Regions from separate parts of the Homo sapiens genome. Here regions 1 and 3 are each linked to region 2. Evidence: promoter capture Hi-C in human tissues and cell types (Jung and others, 2019). All regions are on one chromosome and are shown on one strand. Each heading gives the region's core, a stretch centred on a gene start or on the middle of the fragment in contact. The rest is flanking DNA. Distances are from core to core; before and after follow the strand shown.

What was found. Contacts are between HindIII fragments. The study calls those that stand out against the background at their distance.
Region 1: a fragment that was not itself captured here is called in contact with the fragment with the promoter of GRM2 in region 2 in 1 of the 25 tissues and cell types used here (thymus).
Region 3: a contact is called between a fragment that was not itself captured here and the fragment with the promoter of GRM2 in region 2, in 1 of the 25 tissues and cell types used here (dorsolateral prefrontal cortex).

Annotation. Positions count from the first base shown.
Region 1 is chr3:51,407,219-51,410,753 of GRCh38, reverse strand. The region is part of intron 23 of DCAF1 (DDB1 and CUL4 associated factor 1); the gene reads left to right. Among named protein-coding and RNA genes, the nearest start is that of RBM15B, 18 kb to the right of the region's middle. The HindIII fragment of the contact is 3,503 bases long and covers 202-3,535 here.
Region 2 is chr3:51,705,254-51,709,049 of GRCh38, reverse strand. It overlaps GRM2 (glutamate metabotropic receptor 2), which reads right to left and starts at 1,982. Exons shown (of 6, transcript NM_000839.5): 1 at 1,883-1,982; 2 at 1-202. The coding sequence starts at 66. The HindIII fragment of the contact is 8,284 bases long and covers 1-3,796 here.
Region 3 is chr3:51,448,223-51,452,281 of GRCh38, reverse strand. The region is part of intron 6 of DCAF1 (DDB1 and CUL4 associated factor 1); the gene reads left to right. Among named protein-coding and RNA genes, the nearest start is that of DCAF1, 50 kb to the left of the region's middle. The HindIII fragment of the contact is 3,124 bases long and covers 104-3,227 here.

The DNA of each region.
Region 1 (3,535 bases), core at 704-3,203, 300 kb after region 2:
CTACTTTTTGATAAATCATGCTCAATGGTTAGGGCTAATGTAATAGCTTTCTCTTAGCGTCCTTTCAAAACAGCTTGTACTTACATTTAAAATAATTCTTTAAAAGCAAGAATTTTTGAAAATGGTAATATTTGAAAATGGTAATTTTGTAAGGATGTAAGTCTAATACTAGGGCAAAGGACCCATGTTTTTCTCTAATGGGACTTAGTACTGACTAAGCAAGAGTGTTTTGTTGAGATTTAGCTATGTGTTTTACTGTTGGCCATTACAGGATATGAGCATATCATTTGTTCTGTAAATCAAATCCTTTGAATACTGCATCACCTGTACATCAAAGATGACACAGTATACCTGGATCAGATACACCTGGGTAAAAAAGCTAGAACAGAGACTCAACCTAAAATCCCCTGTGTGTGCTCTCTTGGTCTTCACTGTTTTGACTGTCTAAGCATGCATTTTATTAGAGGCCCGAGATGATTCGTGATCTGCAGAAATGGGCTTCTGAGCAGAGTGAGGAGACTCTTGTGTGGTGGGCAGCTGGTGGCCATGGTGGGATCAGAGCAGAGCCTTCCTCAGGGCCTGGTAAAGGATAATTAGGCTGTAGAGTTTGAAACAACTTCACCAAATGCTGCCAAGGATCTGCTAGTGTAGAAAGGCTTTCCTTTACTGCTTTCCAGCTATATGGGCTCTATAGGGGCCTTGGTTTCATGGGTGAGAGGAGCCAGCAGTGTCTAAAGCTCATGTGAGTTATGAGATATGGGTAGAAGGGAGAGGTTTTCCAGTGGATACTTGAAATCTTTGATTTATTTGTGACATGGATTTTAGTGTTTTCTTGAGTGCTGTGCTGTTACAGCTTGTACATGTTTCTAGTCTTTCTGGGTAGCAGAGCTTGGTATTAGGTCCTCCAAATTTCATGTGGTTGCCTTGAGTGGGTTTCTTAATACTGCCTGTTCTTTTATTCTCACTTCAGTTTGCTACCTTAGACACCTCACTCCCTTAATGCCTACTTTTTCACATTAGCTATCATGAAACAAGATGTAGTTTATTCTTGAGTCCATACAGAGGGTGCAGTTGTCAGGCCATTTGCGCGTACATTACAATGGTATGGGTGGCTGTCGACTGCTTTGTCCTCCGTGGGTTTATTCATCACTACCAAGTATCAGTTCTGAATCAGGCTTCTTGGATGTTACATGTTGAAGCATAAATCTGAGGCCAAAACTGGATTGTTTGTCAACATCATTATCCCAGCCCTCCCATATCCGTGCATTTAATAAGGCAGTGGGCGGCAGTCTTCTCTGGGAACCATCACCTGGGTCCATGTGATGCCTGGTGTCTGTCTTTGAGGGGGAGGTCAACTCAGAGGAAAGTTGAGATTGCCCTAGACACCTTGGGAGTTGGAAGGCTATTCTCTGGGTTCGCCTTATTCTTGCAGACATGGAGTGGTGAGAGGCAAAGGCACTGGAGGTTGGTGGCTGGCTGTGGAAGCGAGAGGCCACCATAAGGGAATAATTTAAGAGTTATACTCCTCTTATCCCACTCTCTCCAGGAAGGCTTGGGTCAGGGAAAAGACTGACTAATTCTTCTTCTTTTGTCCTGCTTAACTTCTGAGAAGTTAAGGGAGAAAGAGATTAGGAAGGGCATATGGTAGTGGTCAGGACTTTTGACTTGGATGCAGGAAGGAAAGCAAGAGGCTGCCTCAGCGTGACAGCCAAGAGTGAGAGGGGCAGGGTCAAGAGGGCTCTAAGGAGTGGCTCTGGAGCCCAGCCTGTAGAAGAGCCGGAAAGCTTTCTAGCTCAGAGAAGACTAGGTGGCAGGGTAGGTGTGCAACATGGCTAAGTTATTACTGTGGCTTCCAGATTTCTTAGGATCTAGGCATGTTTCACTCCATACTGATATTACAGCTTTTATTGATCATCTGGTGCATTTCATGTTTGAAGGACCTCTGTTAGAGAACTGCTTATCCCCTCAAGCCCTTGGCATTTTGATTTTTGATTTAGAGATGTTTGATTTAGAGATACGGGATAATACCGTATCTATTTGAGTAGGTCTCTTTTGTAACCTTAATTCTGTTGATCCATGCTCCTTCTAGAATCTTGTGGTGGAGTTTGGCTGTTTTTACTATCTCCATCAGATTTCTGCCTACTGCCTCTCATGCACAGTGTGCCAGCTTGAATTTTTTTTAAACTCACTTTCCTTTGTAGGAAAACCAGTCTCTAGTTTTACTTTGCTTTGTACGCTTCACCTGATTTTAAAACTAGAGACTTTTCATTTTCCTATGAATCATTTGCTATTCAAAGTTTTGTCCTAGTCTAGATATCTGTTCTCAGGTCTTCTCAGATGTTCCAGATATGACTTATGTGGCTCAGGGATACAGGCACCTGTGACCAACACCTTTGAATTTGCCTTTTCATTATAGCAAAATAAATTCAGAAGCCTGAATGGTCAGCCGTCATCTAATAAAATGGTCCAGCATAAAGAGCTTTATCGAGATATAATTGACATGCCATAAAATATTTGTCCTTTGTCCTTATGCTTAAATAAGCTTGGAGATTAAGAGGAAAGGATGAAAGGTACAGCTAGCTGTATCTAGATGAATGAAAACCTAAACAATGTATTGGACACCCATAAATATTTGGTTCCTGAGGCTGCTAGTCTGCCTGCCTTCAGGCATTTGATGAAAGCAGAGATAAGCTAGTCACCTATCACAGCTCATTATTATCCATTAGAAGTTTGGTATCTGGTTGTTTTTTTTTTTTTTTTTTTTTTTTTGAGATGGAGTCTCGCCCTGTCACCCAGGCTGGAGCGCAGTGTTGCGATCTTGGCTCACTGCAACCTCCACCTCCCAGGTTCAGGCAAATCTGCCTCAGCCTCCCTGAGTAGCTGGGATTGTAGGCGCCTGCCACCACAACCGGCCAATTCTGTATTTTTAGTAGAGATGGGGTTTCACCATGTTAGCCAGGCTGATCTCGAACTCCTGACCTCAGGTGATCCGCCCACCTCGGCCTCCCAAAGTGCTGGGATTATAGGCATGAGCCACCGCGCCCAACCTGGTGCCTGTGTTTTTAGAAATCAGTTCATTCATCTTTGATTTGACTTTTAGAAAAGTTACAAAACCCAAGATAAGTAATTGATCATTGCTCCTAGATTTTGACAAGCCAATACATTTTAGCTAATTATACTTAACCTTAAATTTATAATAAAAAACTCAACAAAGGAATAATGCTCTCTGTTTTCCACTCCATTTTGGAGTCTGGGACACACTGTGTGCTGTGCTTCCTGTGTGTTCTCCACTGCCTAGAAGCGGATGTTAAGAGTCTTTACTGATTACACACACCTGGTCAGAGCTGAATGTGTTGATTCCTGAAAGGCCTCATTTTCTTAAAGAATTGAAATGTAACTTGAGTTAGATTCTGCCATTGAGGAAAGAAAAACAAACATTTATGACCCTAAAGTGAACCTATAGCCTTTAAGGACAGAAAAAGTATTTTTTAAAAAGTAGGCATTTATACATTTAGCAAAATATGACATGTTACAT
Region 2 (3,796 bases), core at 733-3,232:
GGCTGGGCCCTCAGCCACAGCACCCCACAGCAGCAGCAGTGCCAGGAGCGCAAGCAGCGATCCCATGGCCCCAAAGGGGATGGATGGGTCCCGCAGACCTGGGTCTCCAGGGGATGAGATTAGAAGCAGCGAAGGCAAAGAGAGGAGGAAACAGGGACCAGGAAAGGACAGACAAGAAGAGAGATGCGAAGGGACCCAGCTCCTGCAGAGAGATAGAAAGACAGAAAAACAGACCAGGAAAAGTGGAACCTGAGAGCAGCTGCCCCTTCTGACTCTGCCTCCCCACGAGCCCCTTTCCTAGGTACTCAAAAGCCAGGGAGGGACAGGATGGTGTCATTAAGTAGGTTGAGAAGCTCCTGGGACTCCCCTGGACCTGTCTCTCAGCCCTGGCCTCAGCTTGGTGAGAGATGGGCCATATTCCCCTACCAAACTCAGCAGTGGGGAGAGATGCAAGCAGTGAAGTCCCAGGCAGAGGACAGGAGACCCCAGCCAATGCTGACCCCTCTGTAATTCAAAGGGTGTCCAAGAACAGCACAAACCTCCCAGGACCCCGAGGTCAATACCTTTGGAACAGACTATGTCACAGTCACAAACTCAGAGGTCCCCATCCTGAGCCTTGGATTTCCAGAGAGAAGGAACTGCTGTCTCAGGACCCACCAGGGAAGAGGAAGGGAAGCATCTCTAAGGGACAGTCTCCAACCCGTGGGGAGACTGGAGCCCATGTGAACACCCAAGGGTTCTAACCTTTGGTTCTTAAAAAGCCATCCCCACAGTTTGCTGACTGAGGAAGGAATAGAGACACTAAGCCCTGGGAATGAGACAGCAAGGTGGAATGGCTGGCCTCAGGGAGGGTACCCAAGTGGCTCAAGGTCCTAAGTCAACAGGGCAAGCAGATGTTCACGTATGTGTGTGTCAGGGTTGGGGGCTAGAGTCTCCAAACAGTGCTGAGGGTGAGAGTGCGGGACTCTCTAGCTCTGTGTAGAACACTGCTTGAGATTTTGTGCCTCTGTTTTCTCTTCACTCCCGACCCAGCAGAGAAAGTCACCATTTCCAATCTCCCCATCCTCAGCTTCAGGGCCCTGCCCACCCTAGCCATGGCCCTCAGAGACCCCCTCCCTGTCTCTTCCCCACTGCGTCCAATCATTTGTACCCCAGTTGCCTTCCCAAACACACACCCCACAAAGGCTCTCACAATCACACAGGCTTGGAAAGGCTGGGAGAGGGACATACCTCTTTCCTCAGAACAGGAAAGGAAACTGAGTTTGAAGAAGGGCAGCAACTAACTCAAGGACCCCATGTGCTGGCCACGGAGGCTGAGCCTCTTCATTTTGCCCCCTCAGCTCCCCAGGGCAGGGGCACTGGGCTCCTCTGGGGATCAGGAAAGCAGCAGCTTACCCAGGCAAGCGAGGGAGAAGCAGGGAGGAAGACCAGCACAGATGGAGACAGGGACCCAGATGGGGGCTGAAGCCAAAACTGGTCAAGTCGCAAGTCTCCCAGAGGGGAGGCCCAGACGGAAGCTCAGAGGCAGGAAGGGGACAGAAACCCGGAGTCAGACAGCCAGGAGCCTGGGCCACAAAATCTGGGCAGGGAGCGAGCAAGCCTGAGAGGTTGAGACAAAGACGGAGGCACAGACAGAAAGAAGGACCAGAGGACGCTGGAGCAGGAGGAACGGGGGAGTGCGATGTGGGGCGTGCGTTTTCTGGAGAAGAAAGGCGGGACGCCCGGGGCTGTCTTCCCGCTTCCCGGAGCTCTCAGGGAACGCTGTCTGGACACAGCAGCGCGGGCGCCCCACAACTTGAGGGCCCGCAGGACCCTGGGACGTGAGGTAAGGGCCAAAAAGGTCGGCAGCGGCAGCGGCACCACCACCACCGGCTCACCCTACCTGGCGCGCTGGCTCTGGCGCGGAGAGAATCGGAGTGGAGCGGGGGGCGCGAGGCTCCGGCTCCCGCTCGCTCGCTCGCTGGCTCGCTGGCTCTGCGCTCTCCGCCCGCCCGCTCGCCCCGCCGCTTTCAATCGCGGCCCGCCCCGCCCCGCCCCCGGCCCCGGCCCGCCCCCAGCCCCTCCTCCGTTCCTCCAGACGCCAGGTCTCCTGCTCCCAACCCAGCCTCCGCCTCCTCTGGACACTCCGCGCTCCAGCTTTTCTGGGGACCTCAGGGCCTGGAGCTGTCCGCCTCGTGGTGCTGAATCCCCGAGCGCTCTCGCTCTGCGCTGGAGCGGGTGCTTCGTGGCCCACTCCGCCCCATAGTCAGACTACCACCTAGAGAGCATAGGTGGGGGGCGGGGGGATGCCACGGGGCACGGGGTGGGGAAGGTCACTGCGCCCCGACAGGTGCCCATAGTGCTACTGCAGAGTGGAGGAGCTGGCCTTAGTGCAAGGGGTGCCTCTGGGGGATAGGTAAAGGGGCGCGTGGGAGACGGGTGGAGTCTATTCTCCCCACTCAGCGATTTCAGCTGGGTCCACATCCCAGGCCTGAGTTGGAGGCATGTGTCCTCTGCCACTTTTGAGACCTGGAGCCAGAGTCACTATGAGGAAAAGATTGGGGGAAGGGAGAGGTCAGAGGAGAATGGGGCCTCCCCTTCCTTCCTGCAGATGCCCTTTAAACCTGCCACCCACTCCCATGTAAAAAGGGTATTTAAGCAAGGAGAGAGCAACCTGCAGGAAGGGCTGCAGAACCAAGTACTAGGGTCAACCCTGAGGGAGTGTTAGGGATGGCAGGGGCATCTGGGAGGGGAGGGGCCTAGGGAAAGGCTTCTGGAACTGGCTGCTGCGTAGGAGGGAGTGAGAGCTGGAGCCCAAGCAGAGGGAGGACAGCTCTGAGAAGATTCTCTTGACTCTTCCCTCCCACAGCAGGATGGGGAAGGACGCCCCTGGGTAGAGGGTAGTGGATAAGCTGTAGTGCCAGACTGTGCTGAAGGAATGGGGATTAGAGAGCCTGTGCTATCTGCCCCTAACATGTGCACACACTAACAAGTGCCAAGGGGCATGGCATCCCTACACACATTCCCGACACTGCCCTTTCTTCCACAGGTGTCAGTGGAAGCAAGGCCAGCTCAGATACATGCTAATGAACATGCCAAGCCCAGACCCCTCAGGCACACACACCCACATGTGCGTGTGGCAGTCCGTAGGGGTGCGGGGGTGATCACCAAGGACGAGCTTTTTCCCTGGACACAGAAACCTGATGTCCTGCTGCTGTGGAAAGAATACAGCTTTGAAACGAAACAGACACATAAAACCCAAACAAACACAAGCCCCATCACTAACAGGAGACAAGGTGGCAGTGGGAGACAGACATGCTGTCTTCCACCTCCAACTCTGCCACCGGCTGCTCTCACCCTCTCTGGCTGCCTCAGAGCAACAGCTCCCTGGGGTAGGTGAGCAATGGGCCAGGCCTCTGGAGCAGAGGGGTTGACAGCAGGAGGGTGCTGAGGTGAGGAGTCACACACTCCTTCTAGCCACACTCCCAACCTGCTCAACAAGTCAGCCTCACAAAAGGCACAGGGCTGTAAACACAGATATGGCTGTGTACAGCATCAGCCAGAAAAGCCCATGATGTGGCCTGCAGCAAACAAGCTGCACAGTCGCAGCACATGGACACACAGTTACACACAGCTAGGCAGCCACCACTCCCAGCTGTGTGCACACGGATGAGGACATACACTTAGCCTTACACAGTTGTAAATGTGGACATGGCCACATGCATAGTACACATAAACATGCAACCACACACAGCTATACTTGTAGACAGCCATAATACACATGGGCACACCCCTGCCCCTAAGAACATGTGACCAT
Region 3 (4,059 bases), core at 416-2,915, 260 kb after region 2:
GTTATAATTAAGACTTATTCAGCCTGGATAACCTAAGGAGACCTCATTTACAAAGAGATGGAGTCTCTTTGTGGGTGTAGTGGTGCACACTGTGGTCTCAGCTGCTTGGGAGTCTGAGGTGGGAAGATTGCTTGGGCCCAGGAGGTGGACGCTGCAGTGAACTGTGATTGTGCCACTGCTTTCCAGCCTGGGAGACAGAGCGAGACCCTGTCTCAAAAAAGAAAAGAAAAAGACTTATTGCTCTAGGATGGTGTTTTTCAAATTTTGTGAAACATAGTAACATGTACTTTTTTTTAAACCTTGAAACCCAGTCCATACATTATATGTATGAAAAAGAAGTTTTAAAAACACTGTTTACTCTTTGTGCAATTCATTCTGATACTTTTTTACTTATTTCTTTTTTAAAATGCTGGTTCAGTGTACTAAGTTGGTTTTATTCCGCCACTGTTTTTAAAAAGTTGTTGACTTTTACTTTCAGAGATATTGAAAAAAAGCTTTACAATCTTTTTTTTTTTTTTTGAGACAGAGTTTTGCTCTTGTTGCCCAGGCTGGAGTGCAACGGCATGATCTCAGCTCACTGCAACCTCTGCCTCCCAGGTTCAAGGGAGTCTCCTGCCTCGGCCTCCCGTGTAGCTGAGATTACATGCACCTGCCACCATGCCCAGCTAATTTTTTGTATTTTTGGTAGAGATGGGGTTTCACCATGTTAGCCAGGCTGGTCTCAAACTGTTAACCTCAGGTGATCCACCCGTCTTGGCCTCCCATAGTGCTGGGATTACACCTGACCTAAAATCTATTTATTTTTATTTTTTAAATATATACGAAAAAATAGACACAGAGTCTCATTATGTTGCCCAGGCTGGTCTTGAACTCCTGAGCTCAAATGATCCTCCCTGGCTTGGTTTCCCAAGGTGCTGGCATTACAGGCATGAGCCACTGTGTCTGGCCTAAAATTTATTTTTATTTAAAATTATTTGGCTGCAGGCTGGGCAACATGGTGAGACCCCATCTGTAAATATATATATATATGCTGAGTGTGGTGTCACATGGCTGTAGTCCTGGCTAGTTGGGAGGTTGAGGCAGGAGGATTGCTTCAGCGCAGGAGTTCGAGGTTGCAGTGAGTTATGATTATGTCACTGCATTCCGGCCTGGGTGACAGAGTGAGACCTTGTCACTAAAAAAAAAAAAAAAAAAAAAAAAAAAAAAAAAAAAGAATTTCCTTTTTATATTGTTCATTGCTAGTGTATAGAAGTGCAACTGATTTTTGTATGTTGATTTTGTATCCTATAACTTTGCTGAATGTGTTACTTCACTGACAGGTTTTTTTGTGTATGGAGTCTTTAGGGTTTTACACATATAAGATCACGTCATTTGCCAACAGAGGTAATCTTACTTCTTACTCTCTAATCTGGATTCCTTTAATTTCCTTTTTTATGTCTAATTACTCTCACTAGAACTTCCAGTACTATGTTTAATAGAAGTGGCAAAAGTGGACACCTTGACCAGGCGTGGTGGCTCACGCCTGTAACCTCAGTACTTTGGGAGGCCGAGGTGGGAAGATCGCTTGTGCTGAGGAGTTCAAGACCATCCTGGAAAACATAGTGAGACCTTGTCTCTCAAAAAATAAGTGGATATCTTTTTCTTGATCTTAAGGGAAAGCCTTTCAGTCTTTCACTGTTGAGTATGATATTAGCTATGAGTTTTCATAAATGGCCTTTATTATGCTGATGTTTCCTTCTAGAATCTAGTTTATTGTTTTTTCATTACAGGGTATTGACTTGTCAACATTTTTTTGGTATCAGTTGCAGTGGTTATGTGGTATGTTGAACTGTCTTTGAATTCCTGAGATTTAGTTTATTTAGTCATGATGTATAATCCTCTTATGCTGCTGAATTCATTTTCCTAGTATTTTGTTGAGGATTTTTATAACTATAGTCATGAGTGATATATTGGTCTATAGTTTTGTTTTCTCACAGTGTCTTTAGCTTTGGTAATGCTGGCATCATAAAATGAGTTAGGAAGTGTTACCTCCCAGTCAATTTTTGGGAAGAGTTATGAGAAGGATTGGTGTTAATTCTTCTTTATTTTATTTAATTATTTAAAGAGATGGGTCTGGTTTTGTTGCTTAAGTTTGTCTCGAACTCCTAGCCTTAAGTGATCCTCCTGCCTCAGCCTCTCAAATTGTTGGGCTTACAGGCATAAGCCGCCATACCCGGCTTTAATTCTTCTTTAAATGTTTCGTAGAATTTACTAGTGAAGTCATCATGTCCTGGGTTTTTCTGTTTTGGGAAGTTTTTGATTATTGATTCAATTTCCTTACTACTTATAGGTCTATTTAGTTTTTCTGTTTCTTTATGAGTCAGTTTTGGTAGATTTGTCCATTTTATCTTGGTTATCCAATTTGTTGTTGTACAATTGTATATGGTATTCTCTTATAAATCTTTTTATTTCTATAAAGTTGGTAGTAATGAGGCCTGTTTCATTTCTGTTGCTAGTAATGTGAGTCCTCTCTTTTATTCTTGACCTGTCTTGCCAAAAGTTTGTCAATTTTGTTGATCTTGGTGAAGAACTTTTAGTTTCATTGACTTTCTGTATTTTTCTATTCTCTATTTCATTTTTCCCCACTATAATCTTTATTATTTCTTTTGCTAGCTTTGAGTATTGTTTTTTTCTAGTGGCATATGGCATAAGGCATAGTTAGGCCTAGTTCCTAATTTGATTTGAGATCTTTCTTCTTTTTTAATTGCATGTGTTTGCAGCTATAAATATCATTCTGGCCGGGCACAGTGGCTCACGCCTGTAATCCCAGTGCTTTGGGAGGCCGAGATGAGTGGATCACCTGAGGTCAGGAGTTTGAGAGCAGCCTGGGCAACATGGTGAAACCCCATCTCTACTAAAAATACAAAATTAGCCAGGCGTGATGGCGTGTGCCTGTAGTCCCAGCTACTTGGGAGGTTGAGGCAGGAGAATCACTGGAACTCAGGAGGCAGAGGTGGCAGTGAGCCAAGATTGTGCCATTGCACTCCAGCCTGGGCAACAAGACCAAAACTGCATCTCAAAAAAAAGAGAAATAAATAAATAAATTTCATTTTAACCACTGCCTTTGCTGCATTCCATAGGTTTTGGTATGGTTGTGTTTTCATTTGTCCAAAGTGACTTTCTAATTTCCCTCGTGATTTCTTTGACTCATTAGTTATTTAAGAGTGATGTTTAATTTTCATGTATTTGTGACTATTGTAGTTTTGCGATATTGTTGATTTCTAGTTTCATTCCATTTTGACTAGAAAAGATTGTGAGATTTCAATCTTTTTAAATTTATTAAGACTTGTGGCCTAACATATGGTTTACTCTGGGAAAAAAAAAACATAAAAGAACATGGAAAAAGTTCTATGTGTACTTGAGAAGACTGTGTAATCTACTGTTGTTGGGTGGAGTTTTCTGTGTACATCTTTTAGGTTCAATGGCTTATAGTGTTGTTCAAGTTCTCTGTTTCCTTATTGATCTTCTGTCTGGTTGTCTTAATCGTAATTGAAAGTGAGGGGTACAGAGTTTTTGTTTGCATAATGAAGAAGTTCTGAAAATAGATACTATACCGGTAATAGTTATTTAACATTTTGAATGTACTTAGTCCTACTGAATTATACTCTTTAAAATGGTTAAACTATTGGATGTAAAATAAGGAATCAGAACTCTAAGAAAAGTCCAAGACTTTATGAAAAAACAAAAATTATAGTTACGGAATTTAAAAACTTAGTGAATGAGCTGGGTATAGGGATGCATGCTTATAGTCTCAGTTGCTCAGAAGGCTGAGGCAGGAGGATCCCTTGAGGCCAGGAGTTCAAGATCAACTTGGGCAACAAAGTGAGACCCCTGTCTCTATGAGTTAGAGTGAAGTTTAAACAGAGCTGAAGATAACAATTAATGAACTGGAAGATCTGACAGGGTAACTAATAATGAAGATCCTAGAAATAAGAGATGAAAAGTACAAAAGAAGTTGAAACATGGACTAGAATTAGAAAGTTCAAAATATCTAAAGGGAGTTTCAGGTAGAGGGAGTAG